Regions from separate parts of the Homo sapiens genome. Here region 2 is linked to region 1. Evidence: promoter capture Hi-C in human tissues and cell types (Jung and others, 2019). All regions are on one chromosome and are shown on one strand. The core of a region is centred on a gene start or on the middle of the fragment in contact, and the rest is flanking DNA. Distances in the headings are between cores, read along the strand shown.

Region 1 (4,080 bases), core at 1,387-3,886:
AAGGGGTGGGACGAGAGGAGAAATGGGGACTGGGGACTCTCCTATCTCTTTGACTTAAAATTAGAGCAGTTTTCACTCCATCCGTTTTTGGGATGGGAGATAGCTAGCCATTTGCAGACCCTGTGGTTGGGAAGTGTGGTCAGAGACCTTGAAGTTTGTCTTTACCTTTATAGACTCCAACCGGGAAGACTTTGACCCAGCACCTGTAAAGAGCAAATTTGATTCTCTTGACTTTGACACATTGTTGAAACAGGCCCAGAAGAACCTCAGGAGGTAACCTTGGGCCCTTCCCTGCTATCCTTTTTCTCCTTTGGAGGTGCCCAACCTCCTCCACCCCCTTCCCCTACTCTAGGGGAGAGAGCTGCTAGTGAGATGACTGTTTTATAAAGAAATGGAAAAAAGTGAAATAAAAAATATGTTGAATCAGATTTTTTAAAAGGGGTATTTGTTTTTTTATAACAGGTATTGAAACAAGTTAACTTGCATTCCTATGTAAGATAGGAGGGGCTGAGGGGATCCCCAGTGTTTGGAACATAAGTCACTATGCAGACTAATAAACATCAACTAGAGAGAACTCCCAACTGCTGTTGTGCGTCTTTATATGGTGCTAATGCCAAATGTATTCACTTTTCCTATCTGAACATGGTCCAGGGACATGCCTCTCCCTGGTCAGGTGCAAAAATCCCACTGGATTTGAACCTTGGTTCCTCAGATGTATTGTCTAAAATGAGTCATTTAGGACAGTGCTTCTCAACTTTAAAGGGAATTTGAATCATCTAGCGATCTTTTTAGAATGTAGATTCTGACAATGGGATGATGATACTGGTCCAGGAAGGGATTTTGATAACAAGGACCTAGAGAAGCTCACACTTGTTCCAAAGAAAGGTTTTCTAAACTGCGACAGGTGTATACATTCATCATGTCAGTTATGTTCATCATTTTATAATAGCTTGAGCACACTGCATGGCACAGCAGGTGCTCAAATGTTTTAAATAATGCATGCATGTGGGTAGAACAGGAAGCGTGGGGAAGAGGGAACTGTGGAGTTTTTTGTTTCTGTTTTTGAATTTTTTTGTTTTGTTTTGGAGATGGAGTCTTGTTCTGTCTCCCAGGCTGGAGTGCAGTGGCACGATTTTGGCTTACTGCAACCTCTGCCTCCCGGGTTCAAGTGATTCTCCTGCCTCAGCTTCCTGAGTAGCTGGGATTACAGGCACCCGCCACCATGCCTGGCTAATTTTTTTTGTATTTTTAGTAGAGACAGGGTTTCACCATGTTGGCCAGGGCTGTTCTTGAACTCCTGACCTCAGGTGATCCACCCACCTTAGCCTCCCAAAGTGCTGAGATTACAGGCATGAACCACCGTGCCCAGCTTTGTTTTTGATTTTTGAGATAGGATCTCACTCTGTGGCCCAGGCTGGATTGCAGTGGCAGGATCATAGCTCATTGCAGCTTTGACCTCCCTGGCTCAGTTGATCCTCCTGCCCCAGCCTCCCAAGTAGCTGGGACCACAGGTGCATGCCACTACACCTGGCTAATTTTAAAAATTTTTTGTAGAGATAGGGGGGTTTCACTGTGTTGTCCAGGCTGGCCTCTTAACTCCTGGGCTCAAGGGATCCTCCCACCTAGGCCTTCCAAAGTGTTGAGATAACAGTTGTGAGCCACTATGCCTGGCCAATTTTATATAGGAGAGGGGGGTGTGTTCCCATGAGGATCCTTATCTTTCCTGAGCGGCATTAGTGGGAGGTAGCCAAGGGGTAGTGGGTAGGATTGAAGGGATTGCTAACTGCTAATATCTGGAATGTGGCAGAACTTGGAATTAACTTGGTAGGTCTGAGCATTGATACTGGAGTTACTCATGACAAAGGCATTGATACTGGAGTTACTCATGACAAAGGCAGAGTGTGAACTCTGATCCCGGAGGAAGAAGGGTTATTTTCAACAATCTCTTCAGCTTGAATAGATTGTTGCTGTGTGTGATTCAGGTTTGGTGCATGACACCTTTCCTCTTCATGGAGCTGACCTAAGGCGGAATATAAGGGAGATGGGAGGGGCAGCTTGGGAAATCAACACCTCCCACCCTCACGACGGATAACCCGAAGGATCTTCTGCAGCAGAGGCAGGAGTCTGGAGGCTGGGATGGTATCAGAAAGGGCCTCCCTGGGTATTGGAGGCAGTGAAGATGAAGGGCGAGAATCCATTGGCCGTGCCAGTACGCCATGGGGGCGGTTGGGAGATCTTGTAGAACAACTGTTCGAGCCCGCTTGTCCACTCATTACTCTGGAATCCGAGTCCCAGCAGGGGCGCGGGAAACCGCTGCTCTGAGAAAAGGTACCTCCCCCAGAAAGACTGCGCGGGAAGTCCCGAGTTTTCCCGCCACGCCGAGGGCGTGATCCCTGACGTCAGAGCTCCGCCTCCACAAGCTGGCGGCCGGTGGGCTCCGCCCTTAACCAAGATGGCGATACGCGTGGGACCGGAAAGAGTTTATAGATTTCCCGTCTACCCTACCTCTGAGGTGAAGGTGGGACTGCCCTGTGGAGCCCACCCTTTCCGTTATGCGCCCGCGCGGCGCAATGACGTAACACAGGCCCGCCCACTGCCCCTGTTGGGTTCCTGAGTCGTGCTGCGTCGACAACGGTAGTGACGCGTATTGCCTGGAGGATGGCGGACGCCGGCATTCGCCGCGTGGTTCCCAGCGACCTGTATCCCCTCGTGCTCGGCTTCCTGCGCGATAACCAACTCTCAGAGGTGGCCAATAAGTTCGCCAAAGCGACAGGAGCTGTGAGTTCCGGGCTTGGGGCGGGGACCGGGCTGAGATGACCACAAGGCTTCAGGCCCTGACGTGCTTAGGTTTCCAGGTGGGGAAGTCTGGGGGTCCGCCAGTCCAGTGTCTGCAAGGCCTTTACGCCGACCCCTCGGCAGTGACCAGAGAAAGCCTGCGGCCTCGGTCGCTTACCTTCCTCCATGTCTGAGTAGATATCGCTGAGTCTTGTTGCTTTTTTCTTGTGACCTGTGCAGCGGCGGCAGCGTGGGAGCCTCGTGGCCCCAAGCCACATGGCTGGCAGAGTGCAGCGGGGAGGTAGAGTCTTGTTCCACTGAGGACGTTGGTTCTTCGGCATCTTCTGGGGGGCTTTTCGTTGGGTGAGGCAAACCGTGATTTGACCTTAGCCTCAGTCACATTTACTGGGATTCAAAAGCAAGTGAAATTTCTTTAGAATGAAGTCTGGGATTTTCGTTTGTAAAGAAGAAAATGAATGAAAGTAGAAGCAGAGTTTTGTTTTGAGTTACACTGAGAATTGAGAGTCATCAACAGCCCTACCAAGTAGGCATAGTAGTGGGCTTGGAGCTTTGGCTAATTGAATCAAACAAACCTAGGTTTGGGACCAGGCTCTGCCACTTTTTAGATACGTGACCCGGGCAGTTTATTTAACCTTTCTGAGTCTTTCTACAGGGATGTCATCATCCACTTTATAGGATTTTTGTGAGTTTCAGTAAGATGATGTGTAAGAGTAGCAATCTCAGTGCTGGTACAGAGGAATCTTGTAAAAGTGAAAGCTGTACCATAGTTATGGCAATTTAGGATGCTCCAAACACATGTAAGAGTAAGAGAACCAGGAATGTGAAAGGTTTGTAATCTACATCAACGGACATTCCTGCATGGGAAGACACTTTGAGAGAGGAGAGAGGGGGGGTCTTCAGCAGGGATGATAGCATGACTAGGAAGGATGGCTTGCACTTTTAGCAGAATCAGGCTGCGAAAGCAAAGAATCAGATCAGCCTCAAAACTTCCTTAAGCTGGGACAGGCTGCCATGTGATCTAACTGCTTTCTTAATGAAACTGTTTAGAGTTGACTGTTAAGGAGACTGCGGAGAGTGCTTTCACAGTGGACTGGATGGAATTGGACATTTCAGAATTAGGATTCTTTTTTTTTTTTTTTTTTTTTTGAGACGGAGTCTCTGTTGCCCAGGCTGGAGTGCAATGGTGCGATCTCGGCTCATTGTAACCTCCGCCTCCCAAGTTCAAGTGATTATCCTGCCTCAGCCTCCCCAGTAGCTGGGATTACAGGCGCGTACCACCACGCC
Region 2 (4,083 bases), core at 954-3,453, 130 kb after region 1:
ATTCTGACTTGCCAAAAGAAGAGTGTCAGTTACACTTTGGGTCTTGAAAGTAGATGATGGTATTTCTGGTTTCATTTGCCATCAGAATCCTGGACCAGGCAATAGGCTAGGTCTTGCTGACTATACAGGTAGCTCAGTTTGCTTACACATTACCAGCTTATCTTCCTGCTCACAGAATAACCTTCTGGGGAGGGAGTTAACTCTAATTCCTGATAAATGACTGGCTCTTTTTAAGGTGCTATATAAACTGAATTTGGATGTTACTTCGCCACTACTTACAATGATACTATGTACAGATATTAAAACTCTAATGTTCCCATCTCCTTACTGTGTGGCTGGGTGGTTTCTTATTTTGATGTCTTCTACATCAAACTGTTGAGTTCCTAAGTGTTCTCTTCTTACCCCTCTCTTTTTTAGTCTCTCAGTTTCTACTTCTTGCATCTATATATTTTGTGATTTGTCTAATAGTCACTGTGATTAATGTTTTAGTTTGTTTTTCTTTTGTGAAAATTATTTTCTTCTTGTGAAAGGTGAAAATTAGTTTCTTCTTGTGAAAGGAGAAAACTGGTACAGAAATCTAGGACGCTGGAACTTCTAGCTCTCTCCGTTTTTTCTAGAATTGTAGCTTTCCTTCTTTTTTTTTCTTTGACTGTTTTCTCCAGTTTATATGTTGAGTGGTAGGTTTTTCTAACTTTTAGAAAAAAATTATTTTGCTATTTAATGTGTTTGCTGTATCTCCTTGAAATATTATAAATCAGAATACATTTTAGTGTTTATTGCTGCCATTGGTTGCTTTAAAAAAAAAGGTTGAACCTGTTTTCAAAGTAAACAAAATTGTAGCCTCTACTTACCTTCCTCCTTTCCCCACCACAATACACAGTGTTGTTGGGTTTGCAAATTCATCCTAACCATTTGATCAAAGTCAGGCTTTGAACAAGGCTTTATAGTGAGGTGTGGTGAATGACAGGTATGTCTGGATTTGGCCTTGAGAGATTTGGGGATGTAAAAGCATAAGGGTTTTTTTTTTTTTTTTTTTTTTTCTGTCTTTCTTTCTCTTCTCCTAATGTACTGTGGTCTATAATAGGTTGAGTTGTAACATTCATTAAACCACTCCTCGCATTCCCTGTTTTCAAAGCTTATCAGGATGACTTTGATTTAGTTATTTGGAACCAAAAAGGCAGTTTGTGGAGCCTGGTCTGGAGCTGTGTAGCAGTAATATATCAGAGATCAGACTTAGGTCCCAGTGGGATTATTCCTCGGGATTTATTTGCCTGGAAGTACACACAGGAGCCAAATGGTATGTATGGAAAGCTTTGCTGGAATGCAAATTGGACACATTTTGTTGGGACCTGTAGGGGATTTTCACTGCTTCATAATTTTTCAAAGGTTTGTTATACATCAGACAGTCACTGCCTCTTCTTTAAATCTTTAAATCCCCCCTCTTTTTCCTGTTGTAAAGGTCAGATTTTTTTTGACAACTGTGTGCAGGAACAAGATTTGCTAAATCCCTTCATTTTTATTCATACAAATATCGGAATTCAGTGAGCATCAGTTATTCCAGCATTTAGAGGTAAGGAAAACTCAGGGAGAATCTTGTGAATCTCAGCTTTGTGCTAGACATATATCTCTGGGGATAAATTTGCTGCCTCAACTTTAACCCCTTGACTGCTCTGATGTGAGACGACACCCTTACAGTGGCTGCCTTGTATGTGAAACCTACCCTTAACTAACCCCCATTTATGGCTGTAGGATATGTAATATAATTACTGGGAGGGGACTGTGTTGGACTCTTCTGATGGGGCCTTTTTGGCTGTGACAAGCCTTAGATTAGTGTTGGAAGAGAAGGACAATTCATTCCCTCCAGTGGAGCCCCTTCTTTAGGCATATTTAGCTTTTAATGGTATCATAGGCAATAACCACTTTTAATTTGCAGATGATTCTTTCTCAACCAGTAGATGAAATAATGATATCAAATGGTACATTTCCCCATCAAACTTGCTTAGTTTGATGTTATGTTATTATGTTATCGATTGCTGGGTAACAAATTACCCCAACAAATTACCTCTCCTACCCATCTATTGCTGGGTAGCAAATTACCCCCCAAAATGTGGCAGCTTAAAATTAAAAAACAAAAAAAATTTCACACAGTTTCTTTTATTTTATTTTCTTTTTTTTTTTTTTTTTTTTTTTTTTTGAGATGAGGTCTCACTGTGTTTCCCAGGCTAGTCTCAAACTCCTGGGCTCAAGTGATCCTCCCACCTTGGCCTCCCAAAGTGCTGGGATTACAGGCATGAGCCACTGCACCTGGTCTATTTCACACAATTTCTAAGGGTCAGGAATCTGGGAGCTGCTTAGCTAGTGGTTCTGGCTTAGGGTCTCTCAAGATGTCAGCCAGGGCAGCAGTCATTTGAAGGGGTGGGCTGGAAGATCCATTTCCAAGTTCATTCATGTGGTTGTTGGCCAGAGGCCTCAGTTCCTCACAATGTGGGCCTCTCAATAGGACTGCTCACAGCATGGAAACTAGATTCTCCATAGGTGAATGATCTGAGAGAGAGCAGAAGCCACACTTTGTTTTCTGACCCAACCTCAGAAGTAAACCTCAGGAGTAACCATCACTCCTGCTATATTATATTAGTCACATAGACCAACCTAAATACATAAAGATGTAATCACTGGGGACATCACTGGGAGTCATCTTGGAGGCTGGCCTTGCAGGAAGTTAAATGGAAATTTTTAGATGTTCACTGGGACTTCAAGATTGATTTTTTTAATTTGAAAAATTTTGTTCTCCCCAGTCAGCCCTGTCTCCCTGTCTTCTCCCAAACCTTTATGTCTCTGAAATTGTCCAATATGTATATGGCAAATATCTCTTTCTCTTCCTTTGCTGTCTCAGCCATAAGCGCTAGTAAAAACTTTCCGTTTTTCTAAAGCAAGCCAGTAAGCATGATCGATCTACCTCCTCTACCCGTTTTGCTGGGACATCCATGGCAGCTGGTCAAAGGAGGCTTCTGCTCATGAGAGCACTTCAACTGGATTCAGATAATCCTTTGTGGTTTCTCCACCTATTTACTACTGATCCTCTAAAATTTGGTGCAAATGAACTAGACTGACTAGAGTTACAGTGTTACCATGTTTTTTTCAGACTGAGATATATAATGATATAATGATATGAGCTCTTTTTGGATTCTATCCAGGATCTCCAAAATGGAGATAAAGACCTAATGCTCGGGAGTGATTTAAAAACGAAATTACGGCCGGGCGCGGTGGCTCACGCCTGTAATCCCAGCACTTTGGGAGGCCGAGGCGGGCGGATCATGAGGTCAGGAGATCGAGACCATCCTGGCTAACAAGGTGAAACCCCGTCTCTACTAAAAATACAAAAAATTAGCCGGGCGCGGTGGCGGGCGCCTGTAGTCCCAGCTACTCGAGAGGCTGAGGCAGGAGAATGGCGTGAACCCGGGAAGCGGAGCTTGCAGTGAGCCGAGATTGCGCCACTGCAGTCCGCAGTCCGGCCTGGGCGACAGAGCGAGACTCCGTCTCAAAGGAAAAAAAAAAAAACAAAAAAAAAAAACGAAATTACTTGTCACTAGATAGATTCATCTGGTCCTTTGTATACCAGTCAGATAAGAGCCTTAGGAGTTGGCCGCATGTGGTGGCTCACGCCTGTAATTGCAGCATTTTGGAACGCTGAGGCGGGCGGATTACTTGTGGCCAGGAGTTTGAGACCAGCCTGGCTAACACAGTGAAACCCCATCTCAACTGAAAATACAAAAAAATTATCTGGGTGTGGTGGCACACGTTTGTAATCCCAGCTACTTGGAAGGCTGAGGCATGAGAATCACTTGAACCCAGGAAGCAGAGGTTACAGTGAGCCAAGATCATGCCACTGCACTCCAGTCTGGGTGACAGAGCAAAGACTCTGTCTCAGAAAAAAAAAAAAAAAAGCCTTAGGAGTTATTTACTATTCTTCACCTTTCTAGGACAAGCAAGTCGATAGCCACAGTGATGAGGACTGCACAGGCAGACCCTAAAGCTAACCAGGGACACTGTCTTGCCTCTGTGTTTGGTAATCATTCCAGCTAT

Evidence for each region. The method cuts DNA at HindIII sites, captures the fragments that hold promoters and counts their contacts. A contact is called where the count stands out against the background at its distance.
Region 2: a contact is called between a fragment that was not itself captured here and the fragment with the promoter of NOLC1 in region 1, in 1 of the 25 tissues and cell types used here (H1 embryonic stem cells).

What each region holds. Positions count from the first base shown.
Region 1 is chr10:102,149,753-102,153,832 of GRCh38, forward strand. It overlaps NOLC1 (nucleolar and coiled-body phosphoprotein 1), which reads left to right and starts at 2,637. Exons shown (of 13, transcript NM_004741.5): 1 at 2,637-2,778. The coding sequence starts at 2,659. PPRC1 (PPARG related coactivator 1) reads left to right here. Exons shown (of 14, transcript NM_015062.5): 14 at 174-581. The coding sequence ends at 277. RefSeq lists enhancers at 2,123-3,322, 2,228-2,527, 2,698-2,747. The HindIII fragment of the contact is 9,767 bases long and covers 1-4,080 here.
Region 2 is chr10:102,285,178-102,289,260 of GRCh38, forward strand. All of the region lies in intron 3 of GBF1 (golgi brefeldin A resistant guanine nucleotide exchange factor 1), which reads left to right. Among named protein-coding and RNA genes, the nearest start is that of GBF1, 42 kb to the left of the region's middle. The HindIII fragment of the contact is 5,851 bases long and covers 1-4,083 here.